Regions from separate parts of the Homo sapiens genome. Here region 2 is linked to region 1. Evidence: promoter capture Hi-C in 16 types of primary human blood cells and fetal thymus (Javierre and others, 2016). All regions are on one chromosome and are shown on one strand. The core of a region is centred on a gene start or on the middle of the fragment in contact, and the rest is flanking DNA. Distances in the headings are between cores, read along the strand shown. Region 1 holds the start of BHLHE23 (basic helix-loop-helix family member e23). Region 2 holds the start of LAMA5 (laminin subunit alpha 5).

Evidence for each region. The method cuts DNA at HindIII sites, captures the fragments that hold promoters and counts their contacts. A CHiCAGO score of 5 or more calls a contact.
Region 2: a contact is called between the fragment with the promoter of LAMA5 here and the fragment with the promoter of BHLHE23 in region 1, in 4 of 17 cell types (non-activated CD4 T cells, monocytes, M0 macrophages and 1 more). The highest score is 5.7, in non-activated CD4 T cells.

The regions. Positions count from the first base shown.
Region 1 is chr20:63,002,975-63,008,383 of GRCh38, reverse strand. It overlaps BHLHE23 (basic helix-loop-helix family member e23), which reads left to right and starts at 1,420. Exons shown (of 1, transcript NM_080606.4): 1 at 1,420-2,457. The coding sequence starts at 1,610. The coding sequence ends at 2,335. RefSeq lists enhancers at 288-995, 996-1,701, 4,026-4,539. The HindIII fragment of the contact is 10,733 bases long and covers 1-5,409 here.
Region 2 is chr20:62,364,678-62,369,891 of GRCh38, reverse strand. LAMA5 (laminin subunit alpha 5) reads left to right here and starts at 2,580. Exons shown (of 80, transcript NM_005560.6): 1 at 2,580-2,943. The coding sequence starts at 2,647. RefSeq lists enhancers at 278-977, 3,076-3,775, 4,474-5,173, 5,174-5,214 and a silencer at 2,457-2,896. The HindIII fragment of the contact is 18,996 bases long and covers 1-5,214 here.

The sequences.
Region 1 (5,409 bases), core at 171-2,670:
TGCATCAGCCCCGAAGGCGGGGTGGGGTCCCAGGACAGCGCCTCAGACAGACGCTTCCATCCTCGGGGCCCCTGCGCTCCTGGCGGGCGTGTGCTGGGGGTGAGGCCGGTGCTGCAGGACGCGCAGCCAGACAGGCCGCCAGCCCGGCAGAGGCTGCCTCAGACCCATTCCCCTCCGCCAGGACAAAGGCCTGAGTTTCCCACGGAGACTTATCCATGCATCTGTCTCCTCACACCCCGCACCTGGCAGGGAACCACCGGACAGGCCGGTCACTGCTGCGTTCCCAGAACCTTCCAGACAGCACATCCGCCCCACACACGTGCAGCTCCCACTCCCCTCCCGGGGCTGCGCACACTGCCCCATCGCTGTGGCTCCTCCTGGGGCGGAGCCTGGAGAACAGGGAGGGTATGCGGCCCTTCCCAGGTCACACAGAAGGGCCCGACGGGCCGCTCCACCTCGTGCCATAGGCCAGGGTGGCCCAGTCTCCCACCCAAGCCAGGACCGGAGAAGCCACTATCCCTCAGCACACTCTAGCCTCAGCACTCGGCCGGGCCTCCAGGCAGGTTCCCACCTGGGAGAAGGGCTGGGGTTCTGGCCTTCATGCGGGGTTGGAAGAGGACTGAAAAGGCGAGTCCGAGGCTGGCCACATTCCCATCCAGTGTGGCTGGACCCCAGGGGTTCGGAGGCTCCGGGAAAGCCCACCAAGCCTCACGCGTTTCGCTGATAGATGCCCAGGAAGCGGCTGGCAGGGAAGAGGCGGTCCTGCAGCTCACAGAGCTCCCCTCCCACCCCCGGGGAGCCCCAGGCCGCGCTGCCCTCCACCTTCCCGCCCTCCCCGGCCTGCAACGCTCGTGGCGTTTTTCAACAGGTTCTAGAAACTCCCTCTCACTCTGCCCCTCAAGCCTGGCCACAGGGCGCCCCGAGCAGGGAGTGTGCGGGCTCCGGGTACACGCTGCGCCGCGGCTGCACCAGAGCGCCCACGACCCTGACCCCGACCCGAAGCGGCCCCTCAGCGGGACAGGGTGTTGGCGCTGGCGCTGCTGCTATTGCGGCGCGCCCCCCCGCTCTGGCCCCTGCGTGTCGCCAGGGACTCTTGCGCTAGGGTCAGACTCAAAGACGGACCGAGGCGGGTGCCCACCTGGGACGCGTGCGTTTGGTGGCGGAATCCCCGGGGCGGCCGGAGGCGGCGGCCGGGGAGTCGAGAAGCAAGTACTAGCGCTCCAGGACCGCGCGCGCCGCCCCGCGCCGCCCCGCGCCGCCCCTCGGTCCAGAGCCCCCACCCCCGGCCTGTGAGCCTGCGGCGCTGGTGGAGCCCGGCTCCAGGAAGAGGAGCTCACCCGGTCCCCCCTGATTGGACAGCAGCGAGGTCCCACCGGGCGCCTCCGCGGCTTAAAACCGAAGCGGGGGCGAGGGGGAGGTAGAGCCCGCCCCCTGCGCGTCGCGGCTGGGAGGGAGAGGAGGTGGGAGAGAAGGAAGAGGCGGAGGAGGCAGCGGGCGCCGAGGCTCTGGGACCCGCAGGCAAGCCAGACCGACGCGCAGAGCCGGGAGCCTCATCGCAGCGGCAGCGGCAGCGGCGGGCTCGGGCCGGCCTCGGGGGCTGCTCACCCACATGAGCATCCGCCCACCCGGCGAGCCCCCGAGCCCAGGCGGCGCGGCCATGGCCGAGCTCAAGTCGCTGTCGGGGGACGCGTACCTGGCACTAAGCCACGGCTACGCGGCGGCGGCTGCGGGTCTCGCCTACGGGGCGGCGCGAGAACCCGAAGCGGCCCGCGGCTACGGCACTCCGGGCCCGGGCGGCGACCTCCCCGCGGCGCCTGCACCTCGCGCCCCAGCTCAGGCGGCGGAGAGCAGCGGCGAACAGAGCGGGGACGAGGACGACGCCTTCGAGCAGCGGCGGCGGCGGCGCGGGCCAGGGAGCGCGGCGGACGGGCGGCGGCGGCCGCGAGAGCAGCGGTCTCTGCGGCTCAGCATCAACGCGCGCGAGCGGCGGCGCATGCACGACCTAAACGACGCGCTGGACGGGCTGCGAGCCGTCATCCCCTACGCGCACAGCCCGTCGGTGCGCAAGCTCTCCAAGATCGCCACGCTGCTGCTCGCCAAGAACTATATCCTCATGCAGGCGCAGGCCCTGGACGAGATGCGGCGCCTGGTGGCCTTCCTCAACCAGGGCCAGGGCCTGGCCGCGCCCGTAAACGCCGCGCCCTTGACGCCCTTCGGCCAGGCCACTGTGTGCCCCTTCTCCGCAGGCGCCGCCCTGGGGCCCTGCCCTGACAAGTGCGCCGCCTTCTCCGGGACGCCCTCCGCGCTTTGCAAACACTGTCACGAGAAGCCGTGACCGCGCGGGCCCCCGGCCCTCCCGCACGCGTCCTCCGATCGCCCCTGTGACTGTCTCTCTGCCCGGACAGGAAAGGCCTGGAGGGACCCTGCAGACCAGGAGGAGGGGGCCCGACTTCGCTTCCAGCCTGTGCGCGGTGGACAGTTTAGCGCAGCGGGAAGCGCCAAGGCCGTCGGGGCGCGGGATTGAGCTCGAGAGCCGGACGCTGGACTCTGCGCCCGGGAACTCGCGGCACCCACTGGGTATTGTCGGGACCCAGCAAGTCTAGGAACGGGGGTGGGTAGAGCATCCTTCGGGCACTGCCGTTCGTCCCCAAAAGAAGACCACCGCGGGGTCCCAGGGCCACGGCGAGGACGGGCACTGGTCAGATTCCGGACAGGCGGTCCTGGCCCCGGGCGCACGAAAGGTGGAGACGAAGAAAAGCCGGACTTACTGGCTCCTGATCCTCTTGCAGTGGGCCTCGCGCTCCCGCTCCAGCCGGCCCTTCGTGCTAAACTGCAGGGCAGTGCTCTGTTCCTGAGGACGCGCGTGGCCGGCACCTCCCACCTCGGTGACTCCGAGACTCCGCAGCCCTGCGGAGAGCCCACGATGGCCGTCTGCAGAGGAGCTGGACCGCGGGCGCAGGAAGACCCCGGGGAAGGCCTTTTCCAAGTAGGAGTTTGTTCTATTTATTTGGGAATTGGACGCCGTCGCCGGCTGCCTCGAAGTCTGAGGAATTTGTCCCCTAAATGTCCCCTGGCCTCCCCCCCCCGCCGCCATCCGCTGCCTGGGACGTCCGCGGGGTGGAGTTGGATGGAGACCGCTTTGCGGGCCCTCTGCCTCGGGGGGCTGCGTGGAGGAGGGTCCTCACAGCCCGCGCCCTACTTAACCCTGACGGTCAGGGGAGGGCCCCGTCTAGCCCTGGTGTCCAGCAAACCCCCTCCCCACCGATCCCCTCTCCCTTCCGAGGGAGGAGGCCGGGCTACGGGTGAGTAAGCTGCTGCGGGCCCCGTGCCCCGCCGGGTGTGAACGGAGATGCGCTGCGCAGTGCCCGTCCTGCGCAGCTCCCAGCTCTGCCACCATCCGGGATCCAGGGAGCCGGGCAGGGTGCCCCCGGGGACCCATCTGTCCGCGCCGGTTTGCGCCCCGCGGCCCCGCCGCAGTATCCGGCTTTATTAACCCAATTTCCTCGGCTGTCGGTAATGCCAAGGGGAGAGGGCCGCCGCCCTGCAACGCGCCTGTCTACAGCGTTTAACTCTGATTAATACATTCCACAGGGCCTTCTGTACTTGCAAAATCAAGTGTATGGTTAAGTCTTATTCATAAAGACATATGCCTAATACTGGTTTCTGCTAATTTCCACTTTTATTTCTTCATTGTCTTTTTTTTTTCCCCTAACAGACTAGTTTATCAGTTTTGCACATTCGAAAAGCTGAGTGCCAGACACCGTTTTTCCCCTTTTAGATAAAGTGGGAAAGCTGGAAACTCAAATGCCCTTCACTTCTAGGGTCATTTCAACGTGATCTTAAATAAATTACCTGCTTATCAGAATTTGAAACAGGGGTGTTTATTCTGGTTAAAATCAGAGACATTGGTACATCATTTATATTCAGAATAAAGCATTTTATTGCCATTTATTTTATAAAAATAATATGGTTAAATTTTAATATCAAGTGAAATAGTGTTCATTTGTAGCTGAATTCACAATAATTTCAATTTTCAGATACTTGTGTCCACTCGAAACCAGAGTCTGAAGAGTCTCTGAGATGCTAAAACTCATCTAAAAGCAACCACTTATTATAGCACATGTGTGAAATCATAAGGAAAAGGGCAGAGGAAAAAAATCTCTCTTTCTCTCTTTGGGTGGAGAATAAGTTTTTGAAAAAACCACTTCACTAATCAAAAATTCTTCCGATTACTTAATTTAAATAAAAATTCAAGTTACATTTAAACTTTTTTGTACATGACAAAGCTGTGTGTCTACTGTTCTACAAACGTCTGCATGCTTCTCACTTGGCCTGAGTGGAGTGGAGTGTTTCGGAGAATTAGCTCGCCTTCTCTGCAGTGGCTGCTCGCGAAGCCACCTGGGCAATCACAGTGTCATCTGGCCTTTCTCAGATTTGCCCAAGGATCTTCTCATTCCAAGACAGCCCTCCACGGCCTGTGTGCCCACATCTGGCAAACAGCAAAGCAGAACCCACGTGGGTGCCTGTGCAAGCCCGTGGCTCCCGAGAAACGTGGGGGGCTGCTCGTCTTTTCTCTGACGGCTGTGCTCCTGCAGGTGTGTTGAGAATGGCTGGGGATCACCGGGAAAGAACTTCACCGTCACCACCCACCAGGAGCCACCCTTCCCCCAACACTCAGGGAGGAACCAAACACGAAAGAGCTTTGCTTCCAGCTGAGCTTTTCAAGACGCTCACTGTGTTGTTTTGTTTTGTTTTGTTTTTTAAGACAGAGTCTCGCTCCATCACGGAGGCTGGAGTGCAGTGGCACCATCTTGGCTTGGCTCACTGCAGCCTCTGCCTTCCGGATTTAAGCGATTCTTCTGCCTCAGCCTCCCTAGTAGGTGGGACTACAGATGTGCGCCACCACGCCTGGCTAATTTTTGTATTTTTTTGTAGAGATGGGGCTTCATCATGTTGGCCAGGCTGGTCTTGAACTCCTAACCTCAAGTGATCTGCCTGCCTCGGCCTCCCAAGTGCTGGGATTATAGGCTGAGCCACCACGTCTGGCTAAGATGCTCACCTTTAGATTCCTTCTAGGTAGAGATGTGCAGGCTGTGGGAGGTGGGAGGCAGCGTCCCCAGAACCGAGGTGTTCACACCACCCCGTGACCAGTGTTGCTGTAGGGAGAGAACGTGGTCATGTGTAGAATTTTACATTTTCAAGTGGCCATATTAAAAAAGGAAATAGAAGCAGATGAAATTATTTTTATTGATAACTTAATACTTATCCCAATACATCCAAAATATCATTTCAGTGTGTCATCCATATTTAAAGTTATTCGATATTTTACTTTCCTGGCACTAAGTCTTCAAGTTCCAGCATGTGTTTAAAGCCCAGCTCAGTTCATACCAGCCATGTTCCAATGCGTTT
Region 2 (5,214 bases), core at 1,331-3,830, 640 kb after region 1:
GAGCTGGGTGGGCAGGGGCTCTGGATCTTGGATTGTCCCTGGAGGGCAGCCAGAGCCTGGTGGGACAGAGGCTCCTCCACGGCCCTCCCCTGGCGAGCCACCTCCTTTTACCCTCCCCTCCACTCCCAGACTGGGCAGCTCCCTCCTGTGGATTCAGGACAGGACGTGTTTGGGGGTGGGGTGCCGTCTGACCTGTTGCAGGGAGGAGGACTACGTCACGGGCGGGTGCCCGAAAGATGCCCAGTAAATAGGAGTAAGAAATGAATGATGGACAAACTTCCTCTTGCTTTACTAACTTGTGTGCTCTTGATTGACCCTGGCCTTTTTGGCCTCAGTTTCCCCATTTGTAAATAGAAGAGGTGGCTGGGCTGCGCAGGACTCAGAAAGACAAGGAGACAGGCTCGCTGGTCCATTTGGTGATGACTCACTGGAACCATGACAAAGACAGCAGGGGTGGGGGTGTGCAGAGATGAGCTGCCCCTCTCCCTGCTCACCTCCCCAACCCCCTGTGTGTAGCCCGGCTGGGACAGCCCCCCCGCCCTCCATACGCTCAGCTCCTGCCCCAGCTGCCTCCTTCCCAGTCCGTGCACCAGCAGACACAGGGTGGGGGCAGAGTGTGGGCTCTTTACCCAGCCCCTGGGCCACATTCTCTTGTCCACTGCGCTGCCCGCCTGCCTGCCAGTTGCTCCCGGGGCAGCTGTCTGCCGGGAAGCAGTGAGCCCGGTGATTAACCCTGCTGGTGCTGGCAGCTCCGGCTGACACAGCGCATTCTCAGGGCCGGCCCCCGCTCCCCTCCTGGCCAGTGCCGGGGGACAGCGGAGGCCTGGCAGCTTGGCCTGATCTGGCCGCTAGGAGGCTTAAAGTGCTCTCCCCACCCCCACCTCTCCCCCTGCCCCGCCACTCGCAATCCCACCCCTCCAACCACCCGACCCTCCAGGGATCCCAAGAAGCCCTCAGGGTCTCAGGAGTCTCCACCTCCAGTCCCCCAGGCTGTCAGAGCCCCAAGCTGTCAAGGGGGAGCCCAGAGCCAGAGCACACTGCCTGGGGCCAAGCCCCCACCTGGGGACCCGCTACTGCCCAGAGGCCACTCTCTGCCTCACACGGGATCTAAAGCAGCTCAGAGCCGGACTCTGCGCCTGGACTGCAGATTCCTTGATGTCTCCGCCCCCTCTCCAGCCAGCCCCTCCCCCACTTGGAGCTTCTCCTGCCAAGGGGAGCCGCCTCCTCTCCCCCCTCCCCCAGGTGGGAGAACTAATAGTGAAGTTATGGAAGAATTGCCGGGCCGGAAAGTAGGAGGAGGGAGAGAGGGTCCCATCGCCCTCCCGACTCCGTAGAGAAAGGGCCATACACCCTCTTGGGATTTGAGATTTGCAGGAGGCCAGGGCGCCAGGAAGGTGTGCAAGGAGGTGCACCCTCCAGGGACAGCTGCTAGCTCAGAACCCCCACCAGAACCGGCTGGCCAGTGCCCCACAAACCCACCCAGCCCCCCGGGACTGTCCAGGGAACCCAGCGAGAGATGAGCCCCACAGCCCATCTGGGACCATGGCCCGCCCAGCTGGCCTGGCTCAGGGATGGGGGTTTGCTGCCAGCTCGGCAGCTGCAGCCCCACCCCGCCGCCACCCCCTCGGGGCTTCCCTGGAGGCAGATTTGGCCCCGGAGCCCAAGGGAAGTAGGAGACCCAGGGCCGCAGCCACCCAAAGGCAGACGAAGACCTGATCTCGGCCTCTAGGTCCTGTGCTGTTTGCCAGGCGTCCTCGAGCCGCCGATCGTGGCAGGAACGCGTGCGCGGCTGTGCAGCGGGTTGGAGGCCAGGCCGAGAGAGCTGGTGGAGTCCACCGGGCCCCGGAGCACAGGTGCTTCCAGGCACCCAGCAGGTGCTCAGCAGCTGTGACCAGAGCCCCCGACCTCCTTAAGAGCCAATTTGGCGGCTGTGGGGCCATGAGCACCGCCCCCGTCCTCTAAAGGGGGCTGCAGCTGCAGGCCAGTCCCTCCTGCCCCTATTTCCCTATCTGAGAGTATTTTTAAGCCCTGCTGGGGCAGGCGGGAGCCAGGCCGAGTTGAACCTGACCTGGCTGCCCCAGGAAGCAGGGGGTTCCCACCTAGGCTGCCCCGTTCCTCTGCAGATGGTCATTCGCGGGTGCAGAGGGCACCTTCCCGCAGCCAGCAGGACGGACGCTGTTGGGGGAGGAGCGGGGGCAGCCGAGTGGTGCACCCAAGTTAGGGGAACAAAGAGTGGGCCCCTGGGCTGGGAGGAGCTGGTGGGCGCTCTGGGGGCCAGGGCGTCGTGGGGAGCGCTAGGGTCCCACCCGGGACCCGGAGCTACGACCTGGGCTGGGGGCCCGGCGGCGCCGTCGTCCCACGGCCTGGCCCGAGGCCAGCAGGTGCCCCTTCCGGGAGGCGGCCGGGCCGGGGTCCGAAGGGTTAAGGCCGCCCGGCCGCCCCTCCCCCTCCTCTCTCCTTCCCCCCCCCACCCCGCCTCCCCGGACCTCTCCCCGGGGCTCGGGGCTCGGGCGCTCGGGCGGGCCGGGGCGGGGCCTGACGTCCGCGGGCGGAGCGAGCCCTGCCGGCCGCCTGGCTTCAGACCCGCCGGGCTCCCGCCGCGCGCGCTGTCCCTGGAGCTCGGGGACGCGGCCCGGAGCCGGGAAGATGGCGAAGCGGCTCTGCGCGGGGAGCGCACTGTGTGTTCGCGGCCCCCGGGGCCCCGCGCCGCTGCTGCTGGTCGGGCTGGCGCTGCTGGGCGCGGCGCGGGCGCGGGAGGAGGCGGGCGGCGGCTTCAGCCTGCACCCGCCCTACTTCAACCTGGCCGAGGGCGCCCGCATCGCCGCCTCCGCGACCTGCGGAGAGGAGGCCCCGGCGCGCGGCTCCCCGCGCCCCACCGAGGACCTTTACTGCAAGCTGGTAGGGGGCCCCGTGGCCGGCGGCGACCCCAACCAGACCATCCGGGTGAGCGCAGGGGCGGGCCGTGGGGCTTCCTCCCGGGGCACTCGGACCCGGAACACCGGCCCGACCCCAGGGGGAGCGCCGTGGCCCGGGGCGAGTCCAGGTGCGGACTCTCTGGTTCCGCATTTTGGGGGCCCAAGAAGGCACCCCGACCCGGCCGCTCCGTCTCGGCCGGGAAACTTCGCGTCCCTCCGGGAAGGCGGAATTAAAGTCCCCGGCATGGACCCGGGGGCGGCTGGGCGCCGGTCCAGTTCGACTGCGGTGACCGGGGCGGGAGGGGGGCCGGGCCCAGTCCCTGGCGGCCCCAAGTCCGGGATCCCGGGGAGGGCGGGACTTGGCCTCCGCCGCCTGCTGCCGGTGGGGAGGGGGCGCAGCTCCGCCCTACCCGGGACAGGCTGGAACCTGTTGGCCTCTGGATGGGGTGGGAGGGGCCAGCCACCTGAGGCTCCCACTAGCCCCTCTCGGAGGAGTCTAGGGACTCGAGGAGACCTCCAAAGTAGGGGAGGGCCAGCTGCGAAGTTTTGACTGGGGCTGGGAACACGTGGCTCCCAGGAGGGGCAGCATCTCTGCCCAGCAGGTGGTAGGGTCCGGGGGCTTCAGTCTCCCTGGGAGATGTGGGTTCAGGCCCTGAAGACCCCCTGGGGTGCATGTCCCCTCCCCAACAAGCCTTAAACCTGTAGGCGGGTTCTGTTGGTGGACTCCATGCATGGACACCTCACCTGAAAACCAAGGCTCTTGGGGCCCTGTAGACTTAGGTTGGGCCTGGGGTCAGCCTTGGGTGAGGAGCAGCAAAGTCAGCTCCAACGGCTCCCAACCGGCCGCTCTAGGCCCATTCCCCACCTCAGCCCCACCTTAGGGAGAGTCTAGGGGCCCTGAGGGCCTGTGTAACCTGAGCTGTCTCCTCCCTGGTACCTCTGCCTTCCCGGAAGGAGAGGCTGGGGCAGGGGCGAGTAGCTGGAGATTTGCTGGGTGGGGGCAGAGGGCCCTGGAGCAAGACGTTATGGGGATGAATGGAGGAGCCTGGGCTGGGCCCGCCCCCTCTGCCTGCCCCACCCCCTTGGCCCTGGTGGAGGGGGAAGGAGCCTCCCCAGGCTTCTGGGCTCACCGTTCTCTCCTTAAGCCCAGCACAGTCCTCTGAGATAGGAGGTCTCAAGCCCACACTTCAGATGGGGGATCTGAGCCCTGGAAAGCTGCTGACACCTGCTTGGAGCCCCCCAGCCAGAACAGGGTCCAGCGGGGGTTAGCTGTGGGAACCTGGGTGCCTCCTGGCTGCCCCCTTATCTGGTCAACTCAGAGGGGCCGGGTCTCAGGACGGAGGGCCTGTGACTGTCTCCTTACCTGCTGCCACACCTCACCACAGAGGGCCTGGCTGAGTGTCCCCAGCTGAGATTTTGCCGTTCTGGCAGGGGAGGCTCCAGGTGCCCTGTGAACCTCAGACCACCCCCCCACAGCCTGCCCATGCTGCGTGGCTGGGGGCCACAGGCCCCCTCTCAGATCTGTCTCCTCTGTGGGGGCTTATTACCCCCGTCTCGTGAGTAAAGGGCCAGCCTGTAGTCAACGCCCCTCTCCTCTGCCTCAGCTGTGTGGCTTCCCTCTGTCAGCCTCAAGCTGTCTTTAAAATGGGCACAGCGTGCTGGCCCCCCTCACCTGAGACTGTGAGCTTGGCCCGAGGAGCCTGGGAAGTGGCCACAGTTTCAGTGGCAGCTGTGGGCTGTGGTGCTCCATGCCTCAGAGCCAGCTTGGATGAGAAACCAGCCGGCCTCGCCCAGCTCATGTCTAGCAATAGAGGTGAACCCTTCGCTTCCAAAGTCTCGAGCTCTGAGCAGTGAGTGCCCGCTGAGGCTGCCAGATATGTAGAAAGATCAGCTGGTAGACGTGAGCTGGACGGGTATGACCTTGGATGCCTCCTTCATCTGAGAGCCGCGGGTCTGCTGACCGCCCTGGCCGCGGATTGGGCGTGTGAGAAGTCCTTGCCGGCCGGTCTGGAGTGGAGCTGCGGTTGGGGCAAGGCAGGCAGGCACAGGAGGTGCCCAGGCGATGAAGCCGCAGCTCCATCTGAGGGGGCTCACTAAGGCTATGGGGCCTGGGGCTGGGCAGTGTGTTCTCAAGGCTGCAGGCCAGGGGCTCTCAGGGACCCTCTGTAGGAGATGCACATTAGCTGGGCATCCCAGATGGGGGTCGGGGTGAACCCTGCTGGGCAGCTGGAGCAGGCAGAGGGCAGGGGGAGGTTGTGGCCCTCACAGCCCCAGGTGGGCATCAGGGGATCCCTGGCCG